Linked DNA regions of Homo sapiens: region 2 is linked to region 1. The links are contacts of gene promoters, found by promoter capture Hi-C in blood cells and fetal thymus (Javierre and others, 2016). All regions are on one chromosome and are shown on one strand. Each heading gives the region's core, a stretch centred on a gene start or on the middle of the fragment in contact. The rest is flanking DNA. Distances are from core to core; before and after follow the strand shown. Region 1 holds the start of CYBC1 (cytochrome b-245 chaperone 1). Region 2 holds the start of FOXK2-AS1 (FOXK2 antisense RNA 1).

Region 1 (4,256 bases), core at 432-2,931:
TAGAATCAACAGAAGGGAGTTTTTAGGTTAAGATAAGGGTTTGTGGAGACCAAGATTTCCATTAAGCAGAGGAAGTCTCCAGGTAGCAGGCTTCAGAGAGAATAGATTGTAAGTGCTTCTTATCAGAGTTCTCCCTGAAGCAGGAAAAAGACCTGGAAAGGAACGGGGATTCGCTACAGAATGTAGATTTTCTTCACAAGGGACAGCTTTGCAGGGCTATTTCAAAATAAGTCGAAGAAATTTAATGTGGGGTAAAGTACTTCCATTTCTTCCAAGGCTTCCTATCTGTCATGTAGTCCTATACCAGAGTCAGGCTGGAATTTGGCGTCATTGCTACAGAGTCTACTTTGTCAACTTCAAGATCTGTTTTTGTTTTGTTTTGTTATTTTTTATTGAGATGGAGTCTCACTCTGTTGCCCAGGCTGGAGAGCAGTGGCACGATCTCGGCTCACTGCAAGCTCTGCCTCCCGGGTTCACGCCATTCTCCTGCCTCAGCCTCCCGAGTAGCTGGGACTATGAGCACCCGCCACCACGCCCAGCTAATTTTTTTGTGTTTTTAGTAGAGATGAGGTTTCACTGTGTTAGCCAGGATGGTCTCAATCTCCTGACCTCGTGATCTGCCCACCTTGGCCTCCCAAAGTGCTGGGATTACAGGCGTGAGCCACCGCACCTGGCCACCTCAAGATCTGTTTTAATGTGAATGCTGGTCAGCTGTGTGCCTGAATTCCAAAAGGGAGGAGGGAGTGAGGTATGTCTGTCTCCCCCTTCCCATCACTGCCTGAGCTAGTTTTTCAGGATAACTTGGGAATGCTCTTGGCCAAGCGGAAGGGTCCATTCAGATGGTTGAGGTTTCGAATTGCTGACTGTATCCTTGTAGAATCCTTTAGTACAGTCTTGTCTTCCACATTTCCAGTAATTCACTCTAGAAGCTTGTTCACATTCAGGTTAAATTTTTTCTGGCAAGACTACTTCATAGTGTTGTGTACTTCTGATATCTAACTGACCTTTTTGCGATGTTAATTAGCAGTCATTGATGACATTGCCTAGGTCCGTTAATTCATAGGGTGATGTTTTAATCCTACTGTTTCTTCTTCATTTATTAGCGGGAAAACTTCTATAATGAGAAATTCTTCTCATGCAGTATTTGGTTACTCTGCTGTAAATTTCATAAAGGCAGGACAAATGCTTGATGCTTTCCTTTTATTAACCAGGCCACAAACTGGGGTGAGCTTACCAGCATCCTCCAAAGGTGAACAGAGTTAAAAAATACATTATTATGAATTACAGACTGGAGCATCTGAGGATTTTAAATTCACTCGAATTCCTGTTCTTATTCATGCTCAAATCTTCTTTTTTGGCAATGAGAACCGCTTCAGTTTCGCTTCTATGTTAGCAAGACGTTCATAGTCCTTGGTAAGTTCTTTGCTGTCGGATACGTTTCCCCGCACGTTTCTTTTTTTCAAGAAAACTGGCTTCTTTAGCAGGAACCACCCGCCTCCTCCTGCGGCTCCGCCCGGATCCCGGAAATCCGCTCGGCTCCGCCCCATCCAGGAAATGCTTGCGGCCCCGCCCCAATCCCGTAAGCGCGCGCGGCCCCGCCCCCAATCCCGGAAGCGCGCGCGGCCCCGCCCCCGAAAGTCGGCTCGGCTCCGCTCCAATCCCGGAAGTGCGCGCGGCCCCGCCCCCGCCGGTTCGCGTCTCTCTGCTGCGGCGCGGGGACCGCTGTGCTCTCGGTAGGCGGCTGGGCTGGGTGGGCTCCGCACTTCCTTCCCGCTCCGTGCCGCGCGTCCCGGCACCCTTAGGCCCACTCCGGGAGGGGTCTGCGTCCTGGGCCCGCCTGCCGGCTGTTCCGTGTCCCGCCGTGCCCGTCGCGGGCGGCCTCGCGCCTGTTCCGCTGCAGGTTGGCCCCGGCGGCGGGAGCGCCCCCGATCCGGACAAAGAAACGAGCGCTCGGTGCGACTAGCGGCGCGGGCGGCTTTGCCAGCGCGCGTGTGCTTGTGTCCGCGAGTGTGCGTGTGTGTGTGCATTTGGATGTGGAATGCCGGGTGTTTCGGGAGCAATGAGGCAACTGAGGCCCGGGAGGGAGCCCAGTCATATACCAGCATCTAGGATTGGTTTGTGTGATTTGAACCCACTATTTTTTATTTTTTTGAGACACGGTCTCACTCTGTCACCCAGGCTGGAGTCCAGTGGCACGATTTCTGCTCACTGCAGCCTCCACCTCCCGGCCTCAGGTGATCCTCCCAGCTCAGCCTCCTGAATAACTAGGACCACAGGCGTACACCACCACACCGGGCTGTTTTATGTATTTTCTGTGGAGACGGGGTTTCGCCACGTTGCCCTGGCTGGTCTTGAACTCCGTGACTCAAACAATCCGCACGCCTCGTCCTCCCAAAGTGCTGAGATTACAGGCCTGAGCCACCGCGCCCAGCCTGAACCCCCTACTTAATGTCAGAAATTTGATTTGACTTCACAGGGAAAGCCCTGAGAAACTACCAGAACGGGGTCCCTGGGGCCAGTGTTGGGAGCGTACGGTGAAGTGGCAGGGCTGCTGCGCCCGTGCGGAACTCCGCTGTGGAAGATTAGCCCCTTTGGTGACTCGTCGGTTCTGGCCGCTTTGGGACCCTCTACTGTGCAGTCTGAACTTTCAGCAGGTGGAGGAGGGCAGAGAGAGAGCTGAGATCGTTGGTCCATGCCAGTGCGAGAGCCAGTACGGCCGGAAGCCATGATGGGACTTTCAGTTCCTTTCTTGGTGGAGGCCAGCACAGGGGAGAGGGGGTGCCCACAGATGCTAGAAGCTTAAAGGCTGCTGGGGGCTAGCGGCCTCAGGACATAAGGTTTCCAGACAGGACGGGGCAGGTGGTGATGCAGCTGTAGCTCGTGAGTCTGAGCGGGAAACAGCCCCCGCGCAGTCGGTGTCGCTGTGAACGGAAAAGGGCCTTCCTTACACAGGAAACGGGGTCTCTGGGGGATCCAGTGACGTGCCCAACCACAGAGACCAGGTGAGACTGGCTGATGGTGTCTGGGGCTGCAGGTGACTTAGTTGGGGGACCTGCTCTTGGCCTCCAGACTGGGCCTGATGGCGTGGGCGCCTGCCTGTGTGCAGGCCCAAGGGCTCAGCTGCCTCTGTCTGTTCCCAGACCCCTCCTCCTGTAGAGAGTGGTGCTGCCCTCTCGGGATGTACCTGCAGGTGGAGACCCGCACCAGCTCCCGCCTCCATCTGAAGAGGGCTCCAGGCATCCGGTCCTGGTCCCTGCTGGTTGGTAAGGCTCTCCACGTCCCTCCCCAGAACCCCAGAACCGGAAGCCTGACTTTCAAAAAGGATGAAAATGAAACAAAATATTTTCTCTTTTTTCTATTACCTTGAAATCTAATGGCTATTTTGTTTCTTTGTATCCATTCAAATTCTATCTGGTGTACTTGGTTTTACAGATAATGCATGTCTGTTTTGTCCCCTTTTAATCACTAACACCCAGCGTATTTAATATACTCTATGAGCTTTTCTGAGGTCACCATATTTTCCTTTGTACTTGTTTTGAACCACGTGATGGGTGATCGTGGGTTCCCATGTCTCCTCCTCCCTGGTCCTCAGACCTCTTCGTAGGACTCACAGTCCACTAACCACGTGATGGGTGATCGTGGGTTCCCATGTCTCCTCCTCCCTGGTCCTCAGACCTCTTCGTAGGACTCACAGTCCACTAACCACGTGATGGGTGATCGTGGGTTCCCATGTCTCCTCCTCCCTGGTCCTCAGACCTCTTCGTAGGACTCACAGTCCACTAACCACGTGATGGGTGATCGTGGGTTCCCATGTCTCCTCCTCCCTGGTCCTCAGACCTCTTCGTAGGACTCACAGTCCACTAACCACGTGATGGGTGATCGTGGGTTCCCATGTCTCCTCCTCCCTGGTCCTCAGACCTCTTCGTAGGACTCACAGTCCACTAACCACGTGATGGGTGATCGTGGGTTCCCATGTCTCCTCCTCCCTGGTCCTCAGACCTCTTCGTAGGACTCACAGTCCACTAACCACGTGATGGGTGATCGTGGGTTCCCATGTCTCCTCCTCCCTGGTCCTCAGACCTCTTCGTAGGACTCACAGTCCACTAACCACGTGATGGGTGATCGTGGGTTCCCATGTCTCCTCCTCCCTGGTCCTCAGACCTCTTCGTAGGACTCACAGTCCACTTAGCCTCCCGTCCTCCATCGCTACCCACCAGTAGGGTCCTGTACCCTTGGGGACAGCTGCACTTGTGTTG
Region 2 (5,861 bases), core at 3,362-5,861, 140 kb before region 1:
CGGGGTCTGCTTTCAGAATAAGAGCCTCTGCCCGGTACAGGGAGACCTTCACTGGGTCTGCTTTCAGAATAAGAGCCTGTGCCCGGCGCAGGGAGACCTTCACAGGGTCTACTTTCAGAATAAGAGCCTGTGCCCGGCACAGGGAGACCTTCACGGGGTCTGCTTTCAGAATAAGAGCCTGTGCCTGGCACAGGGAGACCTTCACAGGGTCTCCCTCTGCCAGCGCGAACTGGGCATTTCACTCTCACTGCGAAGCGTGCGCCCTCACACCAGGCGCCACAGCTGAGATGCAGAGAACCCCAGCCAGCTTGAGGAGATGCCCCAGGAAACACTGGAGTCAACAAATGATATTTGAGGACCACGTAACTGCTACACAAGGAAGAAGAGCAGAGTTAGGCAGGAGGGAGCAAACGATCAAGGCAGGAACAATGTTAACGAAAGAAGCGAAAGGCAGGGCCTGAGGAGAATGTCGCAGGGTGAAGCAGCAGCAAAGCCCAGGCTTCCCAGCAGGGCTGGTCAGGCAGGCCTGTCCAGACAGGGAGTGGCCCCGTGAAGGGCCTCATGAGGTTCCTCCACTGTGAGGCTTGAGCTGTGGCAACACCTTCCACTGACAGTGATCTGTGAACCCTTAAGAAGGTGACAGAAAGAAAACAAGAGGACACACATGTGAGCCCCATGAAGGACCAGGACAGTAGAGAGGCCGGAGGAGTCAATATGTGAGCCAAGAGATGCTCCAGGACCGCAGCTCAGCCCAGGAGCACACTGAGCAGGCGAGGCCCTGGCCAAACACAGCTCAGCCCCGAACTCCCAAATCAAAACGACAACACTGGCTGGGTATGCTGGCTCGTACCTGTAATCCCAGCACTTTGGGAGGCCAAGGCTAGAGGATCACCAGAGTCCAGGAGTTTGAAACCAGCCTGGGCAACATAGTGAGACCCTGTCTCTACAAAAAATACAAAAACTTAGCTGGATGTGGTGCTGCACACCTGTAGTCCCAGCTACTTGGGAGGCTGAGGCAGGAGGATGGCTTGAGACCAGTAGGTCGGGGCTGCAGTGAGTTGAGATCTCGGCACTGCACTCCAGCCTGGGTGACAGAGCAAGACAGTATCTCAAAACAACAGCAGCAAAGATGAAGTCATTGACAAAAACACAACCACAGTTGTGCCAGTAAACCAGAAACAGCGCCTGCAGCCCAGAGACAGGAGATGAGCTTTGGAAACAGGAAGCAGAAGGGCCTGTGGTGTGGACGGCGGCACCCGCAGCCCTGAGGCAGGGGTCTCCCAAAGCGAGCTCTGAGGGTGCTTGTACACAGCACGTGTGATGGGAGGAAGTGAATATGCAAGAGCTTGGGCGCCTGGACTCTTCCCACATCTCCCTGCCAGGGAGACTTGGGAGCGTTTCCAGAAAATGCCAGGCTTTCCTTTCCATGTACTCAAAAAGGGGAGGCCTCAAGCCCTCCCCACACTCTGGAACAAGCTTGGAGCAGTTTCTTGGTGCCAGGCACATTTCTGGGGCTTCCCTTCCTGTAAGAGGAAGCCTCCCGGCTTCCATCTCCTCCAGGCCTTCTCCATGGGGCGGCAGCATGATGCACCCCAGCTCTGCACAGGGTTTGGGGCCCTGGAGCAGAGCAGGGGACACAGGAGCATTGGCAGGTGGGCAGGGTGTGGACAACGGCGACAACGGGACCAGGGGCCACCCTGGTGAACCTGACAGGCCAGGGATGGGCTCGCCTGTGTTTGAATGAGGCCTCCATGGAGACCCCTATGGAAGCAGGAATGAGGGTACACTCCAGCTGGAGCGACAACCCCAGAGTCACCTTCCAGGAAGACACTGGCAGCTCATGCCCTGCGCCTGCCCACGGAACTCACCTATCATCCCACCAAGCCACCTGCTGTCCTGCAAGGCCAGGGCTACAGTGCATGGCCGGAACATCCTGACCCCTCGTCCTGTCAGCCCCACCTCCCATCTGTCAGCACTGTCTTCACGACACACGCAGGGGCCAAGCCCTGAGCCCCGGGTCCCACAGCAGCTGGTGGCAGAGGCAGAACCGGCCCAGGCTGCCCTTGGGGCCAGGGTGAGGATGGAACCCCCTTAGGGCAGGCAGCCCAGCCTCGGCCTATCTGCTCGTGGTGCTGAGCCCTCTGGTACCCCTGGGAGAGTCTCAGGCAGCCTGTGCAGTCCCTCCCTGCACAGGACATTCTAACCCCATGCTTGGGTCAGAAAACTCGGCCACATCCACATAATTCCTCAGTAAAAATACTACATTTTCCTTGGGGTAATACACTACACTACAATTTAGTATAAACATAATTGCTTAATATAGTAGGAACCCAAAAATTTCATGTGACTGGCAGCTCTACTGCAATATTCATTTTTTTGCAGTGGTCTGGAACCAACCCTGCAATGTCTCTGAGTTACACCTACATGTCTGAAAAGGCCTGAAATCTCTACATATGAATAAAGAACTACAAATTTCACAACAAAAAGACAACCCAATTAAATGATGGGCAAAGGACTTAAAAAAAATTTCTTCAAAGAAGATACACAAATAACCATAAAGTACATGAAAAGACGTGCTGGCCAGAGGCGGTGGCTCACCCTGTCATCTCAGCACGTTGGGAGGCCGAGGTGGGCAGACTGCTTGAGCCCCGGAGCTTGAGACCAGCATGGGCAACATGGTGAGACACTACCTCCCAAATAAAAAATAAAAGACTACAAGAGGCCAAAATTATGAGCACCTGTGCAGTGGTTCTCATCCTAGGTGTTCAGCATCCAGGCTGTAGCCGACACTGTTTTAAGGAAAATCATTTCCAGAATCTCCTCTTGGTCCTGAAGTCTTTTCTTAAAGCCCATCTGCCACCTCCTCTCTCTGAACAGCCTCTCTCATCTGCTCAACTGGGCACTGGCTTTGGGGATGAAAACTATGGGATGGAGCATGAAAGCAATAATAGGAAATACTGGTGCTGACAAGACTTTTTTTTTTTTTTGAGATGGAGTCTCGCTGTGTTGCCCAGGCTGGAGTGCAGTGGTCTGAACTCGGCTCACTGCAACCTCCATCTCCCAGGTTCAAGCGATTCTCCTGCCTCAGCGTCCAGAGTAGCAGGGATTACAGGAATGTGCCACCACACCCGGCTAATCTTTGTAGTTTTAGTAGAGACGGAGTTTCACCATGTTGGCCAGGCTGGTCTCCAACTCCTGATCTCAAGTGATCCGCCCACCTCCACCTCCCAAAGTGCTGGGATTACAGGCGTGAGCCACCACACCCAGCCAAGATCACTGACAGACTTTCACGTTCATCTGGAAACAGGCCCTCAGTGCTGACACTGTCCTCTCCTTCCTGAGTGGAAACAGGCCCTCAGTGCTGACACTGTCCTCTCCTTCCTGAGTGGAAACAGGCCCTCAGTGCTGACACTGTCCTCTCCTTCCTGAGTGGAAACAGGCCCTCAGTGTTGACACTAGGACTGTGCAACCATCAGTGAATACAGAACGAATCAGGTGGTTTCCTTTAAAGCTAAATACACTAAGAAAGGCATCTTCAGTAACATTTTAATTTTTGGTTTTATAAGAATTTGTTATATTTTTGGGTTTTATCAATTTTGTTACTCATAGACAAACTTTAATATTTATATCTATATTTTATTGCTGCAGAGAAAAGATATGACTAATAAATGACATTTAAGCCTAAAGTATGTGACTCGTACAAAACCTGTTAGGGAATGTGAGATGGAAAGACCAGGCCACAGACAAGGGAGGATCTGGGCCGCTCCTGCCTGTGTGTCCACACGTGGGCAAGTGGACATCTCATGATGTCTGTATTTGGAGTCCAGTAGTACACTGAAAATAATCCCGTAAAAGCTTTATTTTAAAACATCAATATTTTCAATAGTGAAAAATTAAAACACTTGCTTAAATTTATAATGAAAAATTCCAGATAACTTAAATACATAAAAAGGATACCGTTTTTCTTTTTTTGTTGAGACAGAGTCTCGCACGGTCGCCCGGGCTGGAGTGCAGTGGCATGATCTCATCTCACTGGAACCTCCACACTCGGGTTCAAGCGATTCTCCTGCCTCAGCCTCCCGAGAAGCTACAACTACAGGCACCCGCCACCAGACCCGGCTAATTTGTTTTTTTTTTTTTTTTTTTAGTAGAAATGGTGTTTCACCATGTTGGCCAGGCTGGTCTTGAACTCCTGACCTCGTGATCCACCCACCTCGACCTCCCAAAGTGCTGGGATTACAGGCGTGAGGCACTATACCAGGCAGGGATACGGTTTTTCAAACTGCTTCTAAGAGAGGTGGACCCAGAAAGCCTCTGACCTGCACCGGAGGCTCTTGGCAGACCTGGACTGTTTCAGAAATGCATTCTTGGGCCCCACACCAGACAGGCCTAGTCGGGAACTCTGGGGAACGCAGCACTCTGGCCTCTAACAGCCAAGCCTTCTGGGTGATTCTGACACATATCGAATCTGGGAATCACTAGGCCTCTGCCTTGTCTTCAGACTGGGAGTGACTAAGACCAGAAAGCCAACCGCCTGCCCTCCAACCGCCTGCCCTCCAACCGCCAGCCCTCCAACCGCCAGCCCTCCAACCGCCTGCCCTCCAATAGCCAGCCCTCCAACCGCCTGCCCTCCAATCGCCAGCCCTCCCGGCTTCCATCTCCTCCCAGCTACCTGCAGTGCCACCAGGTTTATCACCTTAGAGCATCCACAGCCACAGTTACCCAGAGAGAAGAGAAGGAGGAGACACAGGGCTTGGGGACGAAGGCATTCAAACAGGTAACTGATGACTGCAAACTCTGCGATCTATCTACAGGCAGCAAGTGTTGCTATTACTTAAAAACAAAAAAAACCCCAGGTAGTCAGTCTTCCCTAGAAAAGGTTCCAGACCTTGTTCTTCCATAAATTTGGGGAGAGGCAGGGTGGTGCTGAGTCAGAGTAGGAGGTACCTGCAGGTTTCAAGGTCTCTGTTCGTAGCGTTCGGTAAGGATTCAAACGTCGTGATAAAGCCTTCTGACCTGTACCCTCTTTCAAAGAAAGCGTGTCGTGGGCACAGAGACAGTTTTAGTCGGTAGCTTCGGATTTGCCTGCTTGAGATCCCGCAAGCGCCAGGATCAGCCACACAGCCGGCAACAGCCCACATGTACCCAACCCAGAGCAGCGGGAGCCCACACCTGAGCCAGGCCCCAATGCCAGAGTTGACTCGGCAGCCAGCAGGGACTCCCACCCTTTCCACACTCCACAGGGCAGGGCGAAGGTAGATAACCCGGTGTCGGCGCGGAGGTTCTGGTGTCTCCACTTGTCAATGTCAGAACATCCGTGCGGTTTTCTGTGCACCGGCCTCGGACGGACTCTGAGAGCAAAGCGCACAGAAAAGCAGCCTCTCTCCCACCCTCAGCAGCATAGCACCGCCACAGGCCACAGGGCGCGCGAGGCCAAGGGAAAAGACACGCGGCGGCTCCCGCCGTTTCAGGCCGCTTCCAGGCCACACCCAGGAAATCTACAAGAGGCGAGAGTATTTTTCCCTCTCAATGTATTAGAAACTCTCATCTCTTTTCAGGCAGGTCCTCCCACGGGAATCCCATGACGGCCGACTCCACGACCACTTCCCCAGCATGACTAGATTTCCTGCAGCTTCGAAATGCAAACATTGCCTCAGACAAAAGCTAAAATTGTTACAGTCAGAACCGAAACCACGAGTGAGAAGGGGCTCTGCTCCCAGTACCCACAGCCACGGGGAGCCACCGACCAGCATGTCTTACCATTGTTCACCTGGCCGTGGACCGCAGTGGGGACTGATGCCACGTGAGTGCCGTTTTGTGTTACAGTTTTTATTGGTAGCTGGTGTTGACCTAGAGGTGCC

The links. Contacts are between HindIII fragments. The CHiCAGO score rates a contact against its expected background, and 5 or more counts as called.
Region 2: the fragment with the promoter of FOXK2-AS1 here is called in contact with the fragment with the promoter of CYBC1 in region 1 in 1 of 17 cell types (M2 macrophages); the score reaches 5.1 in M2 macrophages.

What each region holds. Positions count from the first base shown.
Region 1 is chr17:82,448,177-82,452,432 of GRCh38, reverse strand. CYBC1 (cytochrome b-245 chaperone 1) reads left to right here and starts at 1,681. Exons shown (of 7, transcript NM_001033046.4): 1 at 1,681-1,733; 2 at 3,141-3,263. The coding sequence starts at 3,179. RefSeq lists silencers at 1,621-1,980, 3,291-3,340 and an enhancer at 2,611-2,870. The HindIII fragment of the contact is 1,869 bases long and covers 932-2,800 here.
Region 2 is chr17:82,587,172-82,593,032 of GRCh38, reverse strand. It overlaps FOXK2-AS1 (FOXK2 antisense RNA 1), which reads left to right and starts at 4,611. Exons shown (of 3, transcript XR_001753132.3): 1 at 4,611-4,777; 2 at 5,559-5,803. It overlaps FOXK2 (forkhead box K2), which reads right to left. Exons shown (of 9, transcript NM_004514.4): 8 at 5,761-5,861. RefSeq lists silencers at 946-1,240, 5,314-5,514. The HindIII fragment of the contact is 9,921 bases long and covers 3,858-5,861 here.